Regions from separate parts of the Homo sapiens genome. Here region 2 is linked to region 1. The links are contacts of gene promoters, found by promoter capture Hi-C in human tissues and cell types (Jung and others, 2019). All regions are on one chromosome and are shown on one strand. The core of a region is centred on a gene start or on the middle of the fragment in contact, and the rest is flanking DNA. Distances in the headings are between cores, read along the strand shown. Region 1 holds the start of WNT6 (Wnt family member 6). Region 2 overlaps LINC01494 (long intergenic non-protein coding RNA 1494).

What was found. The method cuts DNA at HindIII sites, captures the fragments that hold promoters and counts their contacts. A contact is called where the count stands out against the background at its distance.
Region 2: a contact is called between a fragment that was not itself captured here and the fragment with the promoter of WNT6 in region 1, in 1 of the 25 tissues and cell types used here (aorta).

Annotation. Positions count from the first base shown.
Region 1 is chr2:218,858,388-218,862,402 of GRCh38, forward strand. WNT6 (Wnt family member 6) reads left to right here and starts at 1,418. Exons shown (of 4, transcript NM_006522.4): 1 at 1,418-1,730. The coding sequence starts at 1,651. The HindIII fragment of the contact is 31,874 bases long and covers 1-4,015 here.
Region 2 is chr2:218,922,096-218,925,999 of GRCh38, forward strand. The region is part of intron 2 of LINC01494 (long intergenic non-protein coding RNA 1494); the gene reads right to left. LOC124907984 (a long non-coding RNA gene) reads left to right here and starts at 2,797. Exons shown (of 2, transcript XR_007088091.1): 1 at 2,797-3,904. The HindIII fragment of the contact is 4,123 bases long and covers 1-3,388 here.

The DNA of each region.
Region 1 (4,015 bases), core at 168-2,667:
CCCCCATCAGCCTCCTCCCCTGGGGTCACATCCCTTGGCCCCTTGGCCTCATCTTGATCTACTTGTCCCCCCTCTCTGGGTGACTCAGGATCTTGTCTTCTCTCTCTGCTCACCAAGGTTGTTTGGAAGTGACCTCAGTCATCACTCTCTTGGAAGCGACCTCAGTCCCCACATTCAGGTCCCCCTCTCTACCAACAACCAGGAGCTTTCTTCTGGGCGCCTGACGTTTCTGCCATAGGGACTCGATCTGTCCTCCCCACTCCAGGACAGCTTTAAAGGTTGATGGTTGCTCTTGATGGTATGGCAGGGAGAATGTCCCACACCACCTGTCCCTTGGCACCCCGGGGCACGTCGGGGACGGGAGGGGCAGGGGCTGCTGCCCACTGCCAGCCGAATGGCATGATGAATGGAGCTGTCCCTCTTCCCCACGGAGCCTTTGATCTCCCCCTCGTGGGGAGGGGGCCAGGGGCATCAAAGACATTTTTGTGGCATTAGAAAATCTGATAAACGCCATCTCACCTGCAGCTGGCTCTCCCACCCCTTCTACCCGGGCCAGGTTGGGGGAGGAACTCGAGGCAGGGACTCTTGGACACGCGAGGCCGGGCTAAAGCGAATTCTGACCCCTCGATCTCTTGAAAGTCTGCGACCTCCATTCTCCCGCTCGCTTACAAGTGCCAGCGCTTGCGCGCACGCCCTGGAGCGGCTACTCTTGCCCTCTCATTTCCCCCACCTCCCCGCCCTAGAACGCGGGCTTGAGAGGTGGGATGGCTGGGGGAGCGAGAGCGGAGGCCCAGGGCTTCCTCCCTTCTTCAAGGAGAGGCTGACGAAGGGGCATGAGGCATCGAACAGGGACACGGAAAGAGATGACCCCTCCAGCATCCGCCTGTCGGGCGGTCCAGTTTGACAACCCTCGCCGAAGCACCCCGCGCCCCAGGCCAACTTCCTCTCTTGCCTCCGCGCCAGCATCTCCCTCCGCACCGCCCCCCGCCCCAAACTCCCTCATTCCTGGGAAGTTTTCTCTCTTTACAGTCAACAAACCTGTCAAACGTCTCCCTTCCAGCCCGTCCCCCATTCCTCAGCTCCTCTTTCTCCCCCCTCACCCCTCTCTACTCTTCTTCCCAGCCCTTCCTTGCCCCCGACTCCAGGCGGCCGCGAGCGGCGGGGGGCTCCAAGTCCGAGAGAGGCGAGGCGAGGGGGCGAAGCGGGCGGGTCCCACAGCCCGAAGCGCGCTGGGGCCCCGCCCCGGCACCCCGCTCCCGCCCTCCGCTGCGCTCCGCGCCAGCCGCCCCGGGGCGCACGGCTCGCTCCCGAGAGTCCCGCTGCCTGACTGTCGCAACTGCCACCTCCCTCCGGCCCCCTGCCCCCCGCCCCCGCCTCGGCCCCGCTCCCCTCCCACCTCCGCCCCCGGCTCTGATTTCTTCTCCCGAGCGAGCTCCGCAGGAGACACAGGCGCTGGCTGCCCCGTCCGCTCTCCGCCTCCGCCGCGCCCTCCTCGCCCGGGATGGGCCCCCCCGCCGCCGCCGGATCCCTCGCCTCCCGGCCGCCGCCGTTGCGCTCGCCGCGCTCGCACTGAAGCCCGGGCCCTCGCGCGCCGCGGTTCGCCCCGCAGCCTCGCCCCCTGCCCACCCGGGCGGCCGTAGGGCGGTCACGATGCTGCCGCCCTTACCCTCCCGCCTCGGGCTGCTGCTGCTGCTGCTCCTGTGCCCGGCGCACGTCGGCGGACTGTGGTGGTGAGTCCGGCTGTCCTGGCGCGGCTCTGGACCCTGGAGGGTGGGGACCCCGGGACCCAGGACAGACTGGGGTGTTCCGCAGCCTCCCGGCTCTACCTGCTCTCCGAGCCCAGCTTTCTGGCCTCGGCCGGGGGCGTTTCTGAACTCCACTTCGACGTTCCTAACCCTCGGGAACATTCTATTGTGTTTCCTCCTCCCGGGTTCTCTCCCACCCCCCGCCAAGTTATGCGCTCACCCAGCTCACCAAGGAACAGGCGAGTGGGTAGGAAAGATCTTTCGGGAAGACACATATCCGAGGAAAAGAATGTGTGAGGAGGGCCCTGGATTCAGGGTATGGGGCTGGATTTGGAGAAGACAGGAACAAGGTGGGAAGCCACAAGGCAGAGAGGGCCACACAGCTGCCCCTTCCCCGCCCTGCTTTGCCTACCAACCCACCGGCTTCTCTCTGGGCTCCTGAGGAGTGGGCCTTAGTGACGACAGAGGGAATATAAAGGGGAAAGTGAGTCAGGACCCTGGTTTTCTCTACCTCGTCCTCCCCAAGCAAGGAAAAGGAGGAGCGGAAGGAACCGGACCCAGGCGCCCGGCCCTTCCAGACCTGGGGGTCATGAATGAAAAAATATGTGCAGCCCGGGAGATACGGGACCGGGAGGGGTCCTGCGGGAAGGGAGAGGGGCCTGGCCAGCCAAGGGAAGGGGGCGTCTTCCCAGGCTTGGCCCTAGCTAGAAGGGACACCTAGGCAGCGAAGGTTGCGGGAGCTTCGAGCCTTGGGGGTGGGGGTGGGGCCGGGGCGGGGAAGGAGGGTGCCCGACCGGGACGGCTCAGAGATCCAGATCCAAAGGACTTTTTTCCCCCTAGGTCTCCAGAGCCGCAAACCCTCGCCCGGAATAGCTCAGTGTTTAGAGAGGAGAGACTTGGACAATAACGCTGACGGGTTAGCCAATCCTAAGAAGGCAGGGTCGTGTCTATTTGCATATTGCCATGTGATTGGCTGGATGCCGACCCTCCGCTCCTCCCTCGCCCCCCAGATTTGGAAGAGAGGCAGATCCCCGTGCTCTGGAGAGATAGGGAGTAGGATGCCCACACAGGGAGTGGCGGGCAGCAATCCCTACTCCGTGATGCGGAGAGCCGTCCGACGCTAGTGTCACGGAAAGGGCGAACCGAGGACGACCCAGGTCCTATCTAGGGAACATATGCCCTTTGATCCGGCTTAGTATAATGCAGTGGCAGCTTTGAAGCAGATAGATCTAAGATCTAAACATTATGTTTGTGATCTTGGGCTAGTCACTTCCTTTCCCTACCTCTCAGTCTTAACTGGAAATAGGATAACAGTCTCCCTACCTGGCAGGCTTGCTGGGAAGGTTAGGTGGGAGGACGTGTAGAATAATAGGACCTTAGGAGGTACTCAGTATGTACAGCGCCCCCCTCACAACCCAGCTTCTCCTGGCCAGGGTCCCCAGGAGTGAAAAAGGGGATTCATTTACATTTAAAATCCAGAGTTCCAAGGAAAATGTTGTAAAGGAATCTCTTTTCCCCATAAACGCCTAACTTTGCCCTTTTTCAAGGTGTGGGGATGGGGTCCCTCCCTGATGGCCATTGTCTTCCTTCCCCTCCCTCCCCCTCTGTCTAAATCATTCTTATCCTTACGGTTAAAATACCATTTCCTCCCTGAAGCTGCCCCCTTGTCCTCCTTCCATTGCCTTCTCTGCGCTCCCACTGTATCACATACATTGGGCAACTATGCTGGTTACTGCATTTGGCTGACAACAGTCCTTTAGGTCTCTCTTCCCTGCTCCTGGAAGGCAGATACCTTGTCTTTAGGAGCCCTGAGGCCTAGGAGTGTGTTGGTGCTGGAGATGGGCTTGCAGAGTGTCATTGGACTGGCTGATTCACCTTTCTGGGCTCTGTATCTGTGGGGCTTCCTTTGTTCAGGAAGGACTGCTGGGTGGCAGCCAAGCCAAAGGAGAGTGGCCTGGTCCCTGAGAGACTGACCCTGAAGCTGGGAAGAAGGGAGTGGGGGAGGAGGTGACACGGGCAGGTGTGGGAGAACACAGAGGCCTTCATGGCCACAGCTGCAGGGCGTGCCGGGTGAGGAGTGAGGGGTCCCAGTGATAACGTGTCTGACTGCCTTGCTCAGATGTGCCTCTGAGGGAATGAGCCTCTCCTCCCTGCCTTGGCCCCTTCACTCTCCTTTGTCTATTCATTTTGTTTTTCTTTCTTTATTTCTATTTTTATTTATTTATTTATTTAGAGCAGAGTCTCGTTCTGTCGCCCAGGCTGGAGTGCAG
Region 2 (3,904 bases), core at 77-2,576, 64 kb after region 1:
GGCACCATGCTTCCTGTACAGCCTGCAGAAACGTGAGCCAAATCAAAGCCTGTTTTCTTTATAAATTACCTAGTCTCAGGTATTTCTTTATAGCAGCACAAGAATGGACTAACACAGAGTCTGTGGGAAATAGGACTCAAAAAATTGGTGGCAGGGTGAAGTGTCACCCAAATACTGGCCATCAGGCAGGAATATGGTCAGGGGGAGTAGGCTGCTCTTATTTTCTCACTCAAAGTTCCCACAGCCTACTTTCAGCTCTCGGGAATGGGTGAGAACAAAACATTTTTGTGGGAGTGAAATAAATATCTTTAGATAATCCACGTAGGAGGGTAAGGAGGGAATAACAGGAACTTCATCAACACATGATATATTAATCCATTTTAACTATAAAGAACTACCTGAGACTGAGTAATTTATGAAGAAAAGAGGTTTAATTTCCTCACATTTCCACAGGCTTAACAGGAAGCATGGCTGGTAACTTACAATTGTGGTGGAGGGGTTAGGGGAATCAAGCATGTCTTACCGTGGTGGAGCAGGAAAGAGCGAGAGTGAAGAGGGAAGTGCCACACACTTTTGAACAACCAGATCTTGTGAGAACTCACTCTCACAAGAATAGCAAGCGGGAACTCCACCCCAATGATTCAATCACCTGCCACCAGGCCCCTCCCCCCACATGTGGGGATTACAATTCGAAATGAGATTTGGGTGAGGACAGAGCCAAACCATATCATTCCACCCCTGGCCCCTCCAAAATCTCATGTCATCACATTTCAAAGCCAAGCATGCCTTCCCAACAGTCCCCCAAAGTCTTAACTCATTCCAGCATTAACTCAAAAGTCTAAGTCCAAAGTCTCATCTGAGACAAGGCAAGCCCCTTCCGCCTATGAGCCTGTAAAATAAAAAACAAGTTAGTAACTTCCAAGATACAATGGAAATACAGGAATTAGGTAAATGCTCCCATTGCAAAGGGGGAAATTGGCCAAAACCAAGGGACTACAGGTCCTATGCAAGATCAAAACCTGGCAAGGAAGTCATTAAATCTTTTTTTTTTTTTTTTTTTTTGGAGACAGAGTCTTGCTCTGTCACCCAGGGTGGAGTGCAGTGGTGCTATCTTGGCTCACTGCAACCTCCACCTTCTGGGTTCAAGCAATTCTCCTGCCTTAGCCTCCCGAGTAGCTGGGACTACAGGCACATGCTGACATGCCCAGCTAATTTTTTGTATTTTATTAGAGACAGGGTTTCACCGTGTTACCCAGGCTGTTCTTGAACTCCTGAACTCAGGCAATCCACCCATCTCGGCCTCCCAAAGTACTAGGATTACAGGCGTGAGCCACTGTCCCTGGCTGGAAGTCATTAAATCTTAAACCTCCAAAATAATCTCCTTTGACTCCATGTCTCACATCCAGGGCATGCTGATGCAAGAGGTGGGCTCCCAAGGCCTTGGGAAGTTTTGCCTCTGTGGCTCTGCAGGGTACAGCCCCCATAGCTGCTTTCATGGGCTGGCATTGAGTGCCTGTGGCTTTTCTGGGCACATGGTGCAAGCTGTCAGTGGATGTACCATTCTGGGGTTTGGAGGACGGTGGCCCTCTTCTCATGGTTCCACTAGGCAGTGCCCTGGTGGGGACTCTGTGTCAGGGCTCCAATCCCACACTTCCCCGCTGCACTGCCCATGAGGGCTCTGCCCCTGCAGCTGACTTCTGCCTGGACATCCAGGCATTTCCATACATCCTCTGAAATCTAGGTGGAGATTCCAAAACCTCAACTCTTGCCATCTGCACACCTGCAGGCCCAACATCACATGGAAGCTGCCAAAGACTTGGGGCTTGCAATCTCTGAAGCAATGGCCCGAGCTGTACCTTGGCCCCTTTTAGCCATGGCTAGAGCTGGAGTGGCTGGGATCCAGGGCATCACGTCCCAAGGCTGCACAGAGCTGCTGGGGCCTGGGCCTGGGCCATGAAACCATTTTTTCCTTCTAGGTCTCTGGGCTTGTGATGGGAGGGGCTGCCTCAGTGGTCTCTGAAATGCCCAGGAGACATTTTCCCCATTGTCTTGGCTATTTAACTCTTCTTTACTTATGCAAACTTCTGCAGCAGGCTTGAATTTCTCCCCAGAAAATGGATTTTTCTTTTCTACCACATGGCCAGGCTGCAAATTTTCTAAACTTATATGCTGTACTTCCCTTTTAAATGTAAGTTCCAGTTTCAGATCATCTCTTTGTTCATGCATATGAGCATACACTTTTAGAAACAGCCAGTTTACCTCCTGAATGCTTTGCTGCTTAGAAATTTCTTCCAGCAGATACCCTAAATCATCTCTCTCAAGTTCAAAGTTCCACAGATCTCTAGGGCAGGGGAAAAAATGCTACCAGTATCTTTGCTAAAGCATAGCAAGAGTGACCTTTACTCTAGTTCTCAATAAGTTCCTCATCTCCATCTGAGACCACTTGAGTCTGGACTTCATTGTCCATATCACTATCAGCATTCTCATCAAAACAATTCAACAAATCTTCATGAAGTTCCAAACTTTCCCACGTCTTCCTGTCTTCTTCTGAGCTTTCCGAACTGTTCCAACCTCTGCCTGTTACCCAGTTCCAAAGTTGCTTCCACATTTTCAGATATCTTTATAGCTGTTATAAATAATTTTCTGTATAGTCCATTTTCACACTGCTATAAAGAGCTGCCTGAGACTGAGTAATTTGTGAAGAAAAGAGGTTTAATTCACTCACAGTTCTGCAGGCTTAACAGGAAGCATGGCTGGAAAGCCTCAGGAAACTTACAATCATGGCAGAACTTAAAGGGGAAGCAAGCGTGTCTTACCATGGCAGAGCAGGAGAGAGAAAGAGTGAAGGGGAAGTGCCACACACTTTCAAACAACCAGATCGCATGAGAATTCACTCACAGTCAAGAACAGCAATGGGGAAGTCCATGCCCATGATTCAATCACCTCTCACCAGACCCCTCCCCTGACATGTGGGGATTAAAATTCAAGATGAGATTTGGGTGGGGATGCAGAGCCAAACCATATCACATGGTCAACACAAGCTTCTTGGTGATGCCCCAAACTTCAGAACCAGTTAAAGGTTTACCATCAGCCAGAAGAGCTGTGGGAATGAGCCTCCCAGAAAGAAGAGATGGAAGGTGTTTGGCATCTGCAGTGATGATGATGATGATGATCATGATCATGATCATGATGCTGGCTAAATGCCGACTCTGAGCCCTGCATGATGGTAAGCAGTGTCTATGGATTGGCTCTTTAATCCTCATAACAATGTCTATCTAATGTCTATCTAGAGGTAGATATTAAGATAATGCCTATTTTTCAAATGAAGAAACTGAGCCTCCAAGAGATTAAGTAACTGGCTCAAGGTCACACAGTTGGTAAATTGAAACATGAGTGCTTACATGGATGTTTTCCAGGGATTGAGGCCGCATTAACTGGTGGGGAGAGAAATGAAGAGCCCAGCACAAGGGGTGGACTGATGGGAGCATGTTTGGGCTAGTGGGAATAATAATAAAAAATAATAGTCAGCACTTATTGAATGCTTACTAAGTGGCTGGCATTGTTCTAAGCACTTTTACATGCATTAACTCGAGGTGAAATAAAACCCAAATACACAGAACTGGCAAATGAGGGTCCATGCTTGAGGGTTTGGAAAGACTTGGAAATACCCTTTGGGCACATCAAGCAGGCAAAAAAAAAAAAAAAAAAAAAAAAAAATCAGCTGCATTTTGGAAGCTTCCTCTGATCAAAGATACCCATTCATCCAACATTTATTTATGAAATGCCTGTTGTTTCCCAGGCATTGTTCTAGGCACTGAGAACAGGACAGATTCCAGGAGAAGGAGAAGTCCAGGAACACAAAAAGATAGAAAGAAATACTCAGAAGTGCCATATTTTTTACCTT